3 separate regions of the Homo sapiens genome follow, and all the other regions are linked to region 3. The links are contacts of gene promoters, found by promoter capture Hi-C in human tissues and cell types (Jung and others, 2019). All regions are on one chromosome and are shown on one strand. Each heading gives the region's core, a stretch centred on a gene start or on the middle of the fragment in contact. The rest is flanking DNA. Distances are from core to core; before and after follow the strand shown.

Region 1 (2,716 bases), core at 148-2,647, 510 kb after region 3:
CGCCTCCAGTTATAGTCCAACACCACAGGGCTCATTCGACTTTCCTCCTTTCTGTCTTAGTAACTCCCTTTTCCAACAGTAGGAGACCTGGCCCCCATTCCCCTTACTCACTGTGTGTAGCCAATTTCCCTTTTCCTTTGCCATTTCACCCCTGTGGGGATGTCTTTCCCAGCCTAGTCTGGCTTCAACACCATACACCATGCTATTCCCATGAGTGGACATTTCTCTCTCTGCTTGGGTTATGACAACCCATGCCAGATCCCCTCTATGTGGCCTCCTTCCTAATTGCCTTACAGTGCAAACCTCCACCCCAGACAATGCCTGCATATAAATGCCCCCGCCCCACTCAGCTCATGTTCCAACACTGCACACCAAGCTGCCCATCTGTGGATTTATCCCCACCATCTCCAGCCCCAACACCCTGGGTCATGCTGCCCCTCTATGTGGACTTCTCCTCACCCCACTACCCCACTGGAATGCTGGCTCTCCACGCCAGATGGCCCCCAGCCCCCTCCTCCCCTAACCCTACCTAGTGTGGAGTCGCAAAACCCCTTTGGGCTTTGACACCACCATAACTTCACACCCTCCCTGACACCCCCACCTTGCTTTTTCCCTCTAAATCATTCAGGAAAGACAGAAGGAAAGAGATGAACAGAGGAAGAGCAAATGCCATGCTCTTAGTCACCGTGTACGCCCACTTCCTGAAGTCCATGCTTGCATCCTGCTCACTCTCACACATTCCCGACTCACCCAGGAAAACTCCCTGAGGCCAGGGGTGCTGAGCTCTCCATCTCACTGCCCAGAGGCCAGTGTTGGAGTGACCCTTCACATGCTTGTTGGAACATTGAATAAATGATGCCGTCTGCTCTAATCCTCCATTTTCTTTTCTTTTTTTTCTTTTTTTTTCTTTTTTTCGAGACAGGGTCTCACTATGTCAGCCAGGCTGGAGTACAATGGTGCAATCGTAGTTCACTGCAGCCTGGAGTGCAATGGTACAATCATAGCTCACTGCAGCCTTGAACTCCTGGGCTCAAGCAATCCTCCCATCTCTGCCTTTGGAGCAGCTGGGACTACAGGTGTGTGCCACCATGCACGGCTAATTTTTTTATTTTTTGTAAAGACAGCCTCTCCGTATGTTGCTCAGCTGGTCTCAAACTCCTGGGCTCAAGCAATCCTCCCACCTCAGCCTCCCAAAGCGCTGGGACTACAGACATGAGCACCACATCCAGCCTCTAATCCCCATTTATAAAATGCACTTTCCAATTCCACTCTGGGGATAAAGGCGTCACAGAACCTGACTCTGCATTTCCCCACCCATATCATTCAAGCCAGATGGGGAGGCAGGGACAGCTCTGGTCCCTCCCCAACCCGGGTAGAGATTTCCAGCCCAGCTGTCACAGCTCTAAGACACCGGGACCGAAGGAGAAGCCAAGAGAGGCAGGAAGAGGTGGCAAAGGAGTGCTGGAGAAGATAAGGAGGCTGAGCTCCGACAGGGAGCAGGGAGGAGGGGCCATCTTGAGACTGGTGCCCTGCGAGCTCCACCCCACCCCTCCATGCAGTTCCCCATGGGCCCCGCCTGCATCTTCTTGAGGAAAGGCATTGCTGAGAAACAGCGGGTGAGGTGGGGAGTGAGGGGGAAGGGCGGTGGGCGGGGCAAAGGGAGCAGGGGTGTGGGACAAAGAAGGGGACATGATGGTGCCACAGAACCAGGGGAACAGGTGGATAGAGCAGGAGCTGAGAAGGTATAAGAAATTCCAAGGACCCTGGTGGGGTCATGTAAGCCAGTGAGATAAATGGGTGGGGGTAAAATCAAAAGTCAGGAGCAAAGAGAAGGAGAGAAAAGGAAGAAAAATGAAAAGGGAAAGTGGGATGATGTCATTGTTGAGATTACCATCATTCTTTTCTATGGATGCTCATTGTGATAATGGTGGTGATGATGGTGGTGGTGGTGATGATAATGATGACGTTAATAACAATAGCTGCCACTTATTAAGTCATTGTTCTGTGCCCAGCCCTGTGCAAAGGGATTTGCACACCTGATGTTATTTACACCTCAGAACAACTCATGAGGTCAGTGACTTTCATTCCCATTTTACAGGTGAGGAAAGTGAAGCTCTGAGTCATGAAGTCATTTGCCTTAAGCTTACACAGTTAGTAAGTGGCAGGGTCGGCCAAGTATAGTGGCTCATGCCTGAATCGCAGCATCTTGGGAGGCAGAGGCGGGAGGATCACTTATGTCCAGGAGTTTGAGACCAGCCTGGGAAACACAAGACCCCATCTCTACTAAAAATACAAAAAAATAGCTCAGCATGGTGGCATGCATCTGCAGTCCCAGCTACTCAGGTGGCTGAGGCAGGAGGATCGCTTGAGCCCAGGAAGTGGAGGCTGCAGTGAGCCCTGATTATGCCACTGCACTCCAGCCTGGGCAACAAAGTGAGACTTTGTCTCGTTAAAAAAAAGTAAGTGGCAGGGTCGGGTTTGCTTGATTCCTGTGGGCATGCTTTTTAAAATTTTTTTATTTTTCCATATATACCAACTTGTCCAGATATGTGGGCATACTTTTCATTGTTAGGCTTTAAGATCACCAAAAAAAGAGAATAAAAAAGGCCAGGCAGTGGCTCACGCCTGTGATCCCAGCCCTTTGGGAGGCCAAAGCAGGTGGATCACGAGGTCAGGAGGTCAAGACCAGCCTGGCCAAGATGGTGAAACCCTGTCT
Region 2 (2,985 bases), core at 160-2,659, 340 kb after region 3:
GAAAGACAAGTGCACGGTTTGACCTTTTGACTTGGGGTTTAATATGTTGGCACACTTCCGGGGTCTTGCATCCCTTCTTCCCTGATTCTTCCCCTGGGGTGGGCTGGTCGCCTGCATAGTGGCCCGCAGGGGCTTGGAAGGGGAGCATGCGCAGTGTGTTTCTTGGAGTCATACGCATGCTCACTTGAGGCATTCTTCCCTTACCAGCTCAACCTCCGTAAGAGGTTATAGGCCAGTTAAACTCTGCTCTTAATGCACATTCTTGAGCCCACTGGCCCAGTTCCCGAGATCTTATTGGGAAGCTGCTGATCACCAGTTTCAGGTGTTTTCTCTCTGTCAGGAGACGGCCTTTCCCTGGTGCCGGCTGCAACCAATTATTATTTTAGAGAGACGGTGTAACAACTGCCTGACCATCACCTGATGGTTGCCTGACATTTCTGGTGGGGTGAGGAGTCCTCTCCTGCCCTGCTCATATCTGACGAGCTGCCTGCTGTAACAGCATCTCTCAGCAAGGCTCCATTCCTTCCATCCTTGTCATCTGCCAAGAATGACTGATGTCATAAATACAGACAATGAGTATGATTTAGTCCCAGAAGGGCGTGAGGACATCATGTAGACACAAAAGAGCATACAACAGCAAATTATTGGGGGTAAATATTTAATATCTTGCGTCTGGGGAACTCTAAGTTAAAGTAGTTTGATATGGCTGTGAATTAAACTGTTAGAGGGACAGAGTAAAGGTGACATGAGAAGGATAGTCAAGAGCTGGCAGTTGAAAGTCCAAGAATAAAAGTTGAAATATTTTGGACTTTAGACGGAAAGGCAAGAGTAACTATTAAAGGATGGATAACAATGTGTTGGCTCTTCAAAACAGCGTGGATGATTGAGTGTGGGTTGGGAATGAATAGGAAGTGGGGAACGGTGGGGCTGTTGTAAAAGTGAAGAGCAGATATCAGCCAAGGATCTGTTAAGGACACTGGAATTAGTATATAGCAGAGAAAAAATTATTTACATTATTTAATATAAAGAGTTGGCTGGGTGCAGTGGCTCACACTTGTAATCCCAACACTTTGGGAGGCCGAGGCAGGTGGATCACCTGAGGTCAGGAGTTTGAGACCAGCCTGGCCAACATGGTGAAACCCTGCCTCTACTAAAAATACAAAAACTAGCTGGGCGTGGTGGCACATGCCTGTGATCCCAGCTACTCGGGGGGCTGAGGCAGGAGAATCGCTTGAACCCAGGGGCGGAGATTGCAGTAAGCCGAGATCGTGCCATCGCACTCCAGCCTGGGGACAAGAGTGAGACTTTGTCTCAAAATAAATAAATAAATAAGTAAATAAATAAAATAGAGTTAACACTGAGAGGACCAAGTTTCCATCATCTAGTAAGCAATAAATCCAGGTTTGGAACTCCTTGTCTCCTGATGACTTCATGTCCACGTTAATTTTAAAAATCACCCAAGGCAGCAATCTGCAATGTCCTCTGGATCTGTGTAAAGTCTTGTGTGGCAAATGACAGAAAGTCCAACTTAAATGGAGTGAAATTATCAAGAGTGTCATGGCTCAGGCGAGTTCAAGGAAGAGATGTGGGACTGACTCCAGGGAGGCTGATTCATGGGCTCAAACAACATCACAAGGGAGGAATGTTTCTCCATGTCTTCGTCCCGCCTTCCATATTGTTGGCTTCATTGTCAGGCTCCACACAGTGTAAGTTTCCGAACTCATGTCTCAAAACAGACCACTGGGAGAAAAAAGAGAGCACCTTCTGAGATGGCAATCATGCCATTTCCTAGCTGTTGTTGCCTGGAAGGCCATTGAGGCAGATTAAATAAAAAGAAATCATGCCTCACATCTGGAGGTGCAATGAGGATCAGCTAAGGAGCTTGGTTAAGAATCAGATAAAGGTGACGTCCTAAAATAAATCAAAGAACATCTCTGTAGGTGGTGACTGCAGGCTGAGCAGCACCAACAAAAGGCTTCTACCCTTCCTAAATATAATGTTTAGGATGTGGAGCAAAATATAGCACCTGTTGCCTGCACGTTGAAATCAAAGCTTAGTAGCTCAGTCTACAGGAAGCTGGTCCAGAACATGTCTTGAGTCAAAATCACACCTCAACCTCCATGCATTCTAAACCACGTGATATGGAAGTAATATGATTTGGCCAAGTTTATACAGACATTATATGGGGCACAACGTAAACCCTGAGTCTACATGATGGAAAAAAGTCTGTATCTTTTCCCCTGTTCTTCCTTTTCTATGCATTGTATGTCTCCAGTTAAATCTCTTCTTTCATAGCTCTGCCAGCTAAGCTTTGGGGATCCAGCTGAATCCTTCTCCATACCTCTAGCATCATGCACAGTTTCTGACAATGTATGAACTAGAAGATTTGTGTTTCGTTGTTAGAGGGATTTATATATAAATGTATGTACAGCAAGATAGAGCTCTGTCTAGGATTTCAATGAAAAACACCAACTAGGAAGAAACAGGCTTCAAGAAATGGATGAGAGGAGTAGGACTGAGGAAGATACATTATTTGAGACACCTCAATGCATTTGATACTGCAAAGGGTATATTTGCTCTGTGAATGTGTGTGATTTTGTATGTCCACAAATTAAGCTACAGACACAAGGAGCAATCTCCCACCCCTGAATTTTGACTCTAAGCTTGGTATAGATCCTGAATCCTGTAAGTGAACGATTCTCAAAGTCTGAAACTCCCCCTTTCATCCAGGTGCAGCCTTTGTGAAGGAGAACCACCGGCAACTCCAAGCCAGGATGGGGGACCTGAAAGGGGTGCTCGATGATCTCCAAGACAATGAGGTTCTTACTGAGAATGAGAAGGAGCTGGTGGAGCAGGAAAAGACACGGCAGAGCAAGAATGAGGCCTTGCTGAGCATGGTGGAGAAGAAAGGGGACCTGGCCCTGGACGTGCTCTTCAGAAGCATTAGTGAAAGGGACCCTTACCTCGTGTCCTATCTTAGACAGC
Region 3 (2,973 bases), core at 124-2,623:
GGCAAGGAGTTCAAGAACAGCCTGGCCGACATGGTGAAACCCTTTCTCTACTAAAAATACAAAAATAAAATTAGCCGGGCATGGTGGCGGGCTCCTGTAATCCCAGTTACTTGGGAAGCTGAGGCTGGAGAATCACTTGAACCCAGGACGCGGAGGCTGCAGTGAGCTGATATCGTGCCATTGCACTCCAGCCTGGGCAACAAGAGCGAAACTCCATTTCAAAAAAATAAAATAAAATAAGAAAGGAATGAGGCAACTGGGCTGAGAACAGGTCTTGGTTGTCTCCCTCCTCACAGCCCACGGTGGCTGGAGGGGCCCAGGCTGCCAGGAAGGTCTCACTTGGCAAGAGTGCAAGATACGAGGGGTTGGAGATTGTCTCAGCAGTTTGCTGTGTGATCTGGGGCAGGCTGCCTGCCCTCTCTGGGCCTCTGCGCTCCCCTAAAAGATGGAGCCACGGGGAGGGGTGTAAAGGGGACATCACCAAGGCTGTGAGGAGCAGGAGAAACCACAGGCTCTGGCGTGAGACAGACCGGGTTCAGATTTGCTTCTAGCTGCGTAATTGCGGTCATGTCGCGTTCCCTCCCAGCCTCAGTTTCCCCATCTGGAAAGCAGGTACTGTCAAAGTGTCTGACTCATCCCCAGGAAGAGGGAGTCACGCTGAGCTCATGGAAGTGGGCAGTGCTCTGCCCTAACCACTGTTAGGAGACCTGAAGAGTCCAGAGCCTGCCCTCTCCGCCCCAAGTGCCCTAGAACACAGCTTCTCCCTCTGGGGGTCTCAGCAGCATCCCAGTCTCTCCCATTTCACCCCCAAGCACCCCCGTTATTTCAGGGCTTGCATGGGGTGTCCTGGGTACTACAGGCTGTTGTGTTTCCTGAGCAACTACTATGCACCAAGCTGCCTGCTCTCTTCCACTGCTCTATCAGGGAGACACAGGGCTTGTGGGCCCCTTTGACAGACAGAAAAACTGAGGCCCGGAGAGCGACAGGGACACCCCAGGCATCCCCACTGGTGACTCAACACGGTCGGGTCCTCACTCCCTTCTCAGGAGGGACCTATACACCACACTGGATGCCCCAGCCCAGCCCAGCCCCTCCAGCTAAGTCTGGGCCAGGCCTGCGGCTGCGGGTGGCTGGAGGCCACCCTTGCCACAGTCCCCGGCTCCCCCAAACAGCCACCTCCTCCCTGGGATCTCCTGGCTCCTGCCCAGGTCTGGGCCTCACCTGATTTCCGAGATGTCATCTTCATAGGTGTCCCACAAGCCCGGGATCTGGGGCTCGGCGGGCCCGTCCATGGCAGGTGGGTGAGGGTGGGGAGGGGAGGACGAGCAGGGAGCAGGCGGCACAGAGGCCAGGTGTGCGCAGCGACAGCGTCTGCCACCTGGGGAGCCCGCCAGGTGCCTACTCCGTGCCCGGCCCAAGGGGAGGGGCAGCACCCAGCCGGTTCTCCCAGCTGCTACCCACGCCTCCAACAGCGGGGAGAGGCCAGAGGGAGCCACCCTGCTCTGAGGGCGGGGAGGAGCAGTGATGGGCACGTCCTGGCGTCTGGTGCTCAGCTGGGGGCAGAGTCCAGGGGGTCAGTGCCAAGCCCACGCCAGAACCTTCCGGGCTGGCAGTTCTGGGCCTGTGGGCACCCACCTGGAGCCCACGTTGCTCATTTGGGAAATGGCGCTGATCTCGCCCATCTCAGCGAGTTCATTCATTCATTCATTCATTCACTCATTCATTCCTTTATTCATTTGAGAAATATTTACTGAGCATCTCCTGTCTGCCAGGCGCTGTTCCAAGCACTAGGCCACCGCTGGGGAAGGGGCAGACAGAAACTTGCCCTCACGGGCTGACGCGTAAGGGGCACCCTGGAAACAGACACAGGGACAGAGGCACAGCCAGGACCACGGCAGCACAGACAGGGCGGGAGCCAGGGAGAAAGGGAGAGGGCAGAGGGCATGGGAGACAGAGACCAGGAGGGGACTGAGATGCACAGGGGCCAGAGACCTTGAGAGACGCAACAGAGATACACGGAGGGCGGAGACAGAGACACACGGACACCCAGAGGAGACAGAGACACACAGGGGTCAGAGACCCTGAGAGACCCAGCAGCGATATACAGAGGGCAGAGACAGAGATACATAGAAAGGTCAGGGACAGGGAGAGACACAGATATGAGAGACAACTGCCAGATATGGTTGGGCGTGAGAGTCTGAAGGTCACAGCCCTGGTTCAAATCCCAGCTCCAGTGCCTCCCAGCTGTGGGGCCGGGAACCATCTTGCTCATAGGCTCATCTTGCCTTAGTTTCCCCATCTGTGAATGGCACCCATCGGGCTGTTGTGAGGACTGAGGGAGACACTCTCAGCTGCTGGTGGAGGATCTGGTACACAGTGAGCTCAGCATAGACGGTGTTCTCTTCTCTTCTGCCCCCACCCCAAACCCTGGCCCTCCCCAGCTGTTGGTCCCTGACCCCTCAGAGTCCTGGAGTCATGAAGCCAGTCTCCCCACCAGTGGTGGCAGGTGCCTGTAATCCCAGCTACTTGGGAGGCTGAGACACGAGAATCGCTTGAACCTGGGAGGTGGAGGTTGGAGTGAGCTGAGATCACATCACTGCACTGCAGCCTGGGCGACAGAGAGAGACTCCATCTCAAAAAAAAAAAAAAAATGCCAAAAGAAAGCCTGTGCAATGGCTCACGCCTGTAATTCCAGCACTTTGGGAGGCCGAGGCGGGTGAATCGCCTGAGGTCAGGAGTTCAAGACCAGCCTGGCCAACATAGTGAAACCCCATCTCTACTAAAAATACAAAAAATTAGCTGGGCATGGTGGCAGGTGCCTGTAATCCCAGCTATTCGGGAGGCTGAGGCAGGAGAATCACTTGAACCCTGGAGGCAGAGGTTGCAGCGAGCCAAGATTGTACTGTTGCACTCCAGCCTGGGCAACAAGAGTGAAACTCCATCTCAAAAAGAAAAAAAAAAAAAGCCAAAACA

What was found. Contacts are between HindIII fragments. The study calls those that stand out against the background at their distance.
Region 1: the fragment with the promoter of CABP5 here is called in contact with the fragment with the promoter of SULT2B1 in region 3 in 1 of the 25 tissues and cell types used here (dorsolateral prefrontal cortex).
Region 2: a fragment that was not itself captured here is called in contact with the fragment with the promoter of SULT2B1 in region 3 in 1 of the 25 tissues and cell types used here (dorsolateral prefrontal cortex).

The regions. Positions count from the first base shown.
Region 1 is chr19:48,042,760-48,045,475 of GRCh38, reverse strand. CABP5 (calcium binding protein 5) reads left to right here and starts at 1,397. Exons shown (of 6, transcript NM_019855.5): 1 at 1,397-1,616. The coding sequence starts at 1,554. The HindIII fragment of the contact is 5,918 bases long and covers 1-2,716 here.
Region 2 is chr19:48,211,721-48,214,705 of GRCh38, reverse strand. CARD8 (caspase recruitment domain family member 8) reads left to right here. Exons shown (of 14, transcript NM_001184900.3): 14 at 2,731-2,985. Among named protein-coding and RNA genes, the nearest start is that of CARD8-AS1, 42 kb to the left of the region's middle. The HindIII fragment of the contact is 3,277 bases long and covers 1-2,985 here.
Region 3 is chr19:48,550,572-48,553,544 of GRCh38, reverse strand. SULT2B1 (sulfotransferase family 2B member 1) reads right to left here and starts at 1,373. Exons shown (of 7, transcript NM_177973.2): 1 at 1,222-1,373. The coding sequence starts at 1,292. RefSeq lists an enhancer at 1,429-1,953. The HindIII fragment of the contact is 26,692 bases long and covers 1-2,973 here.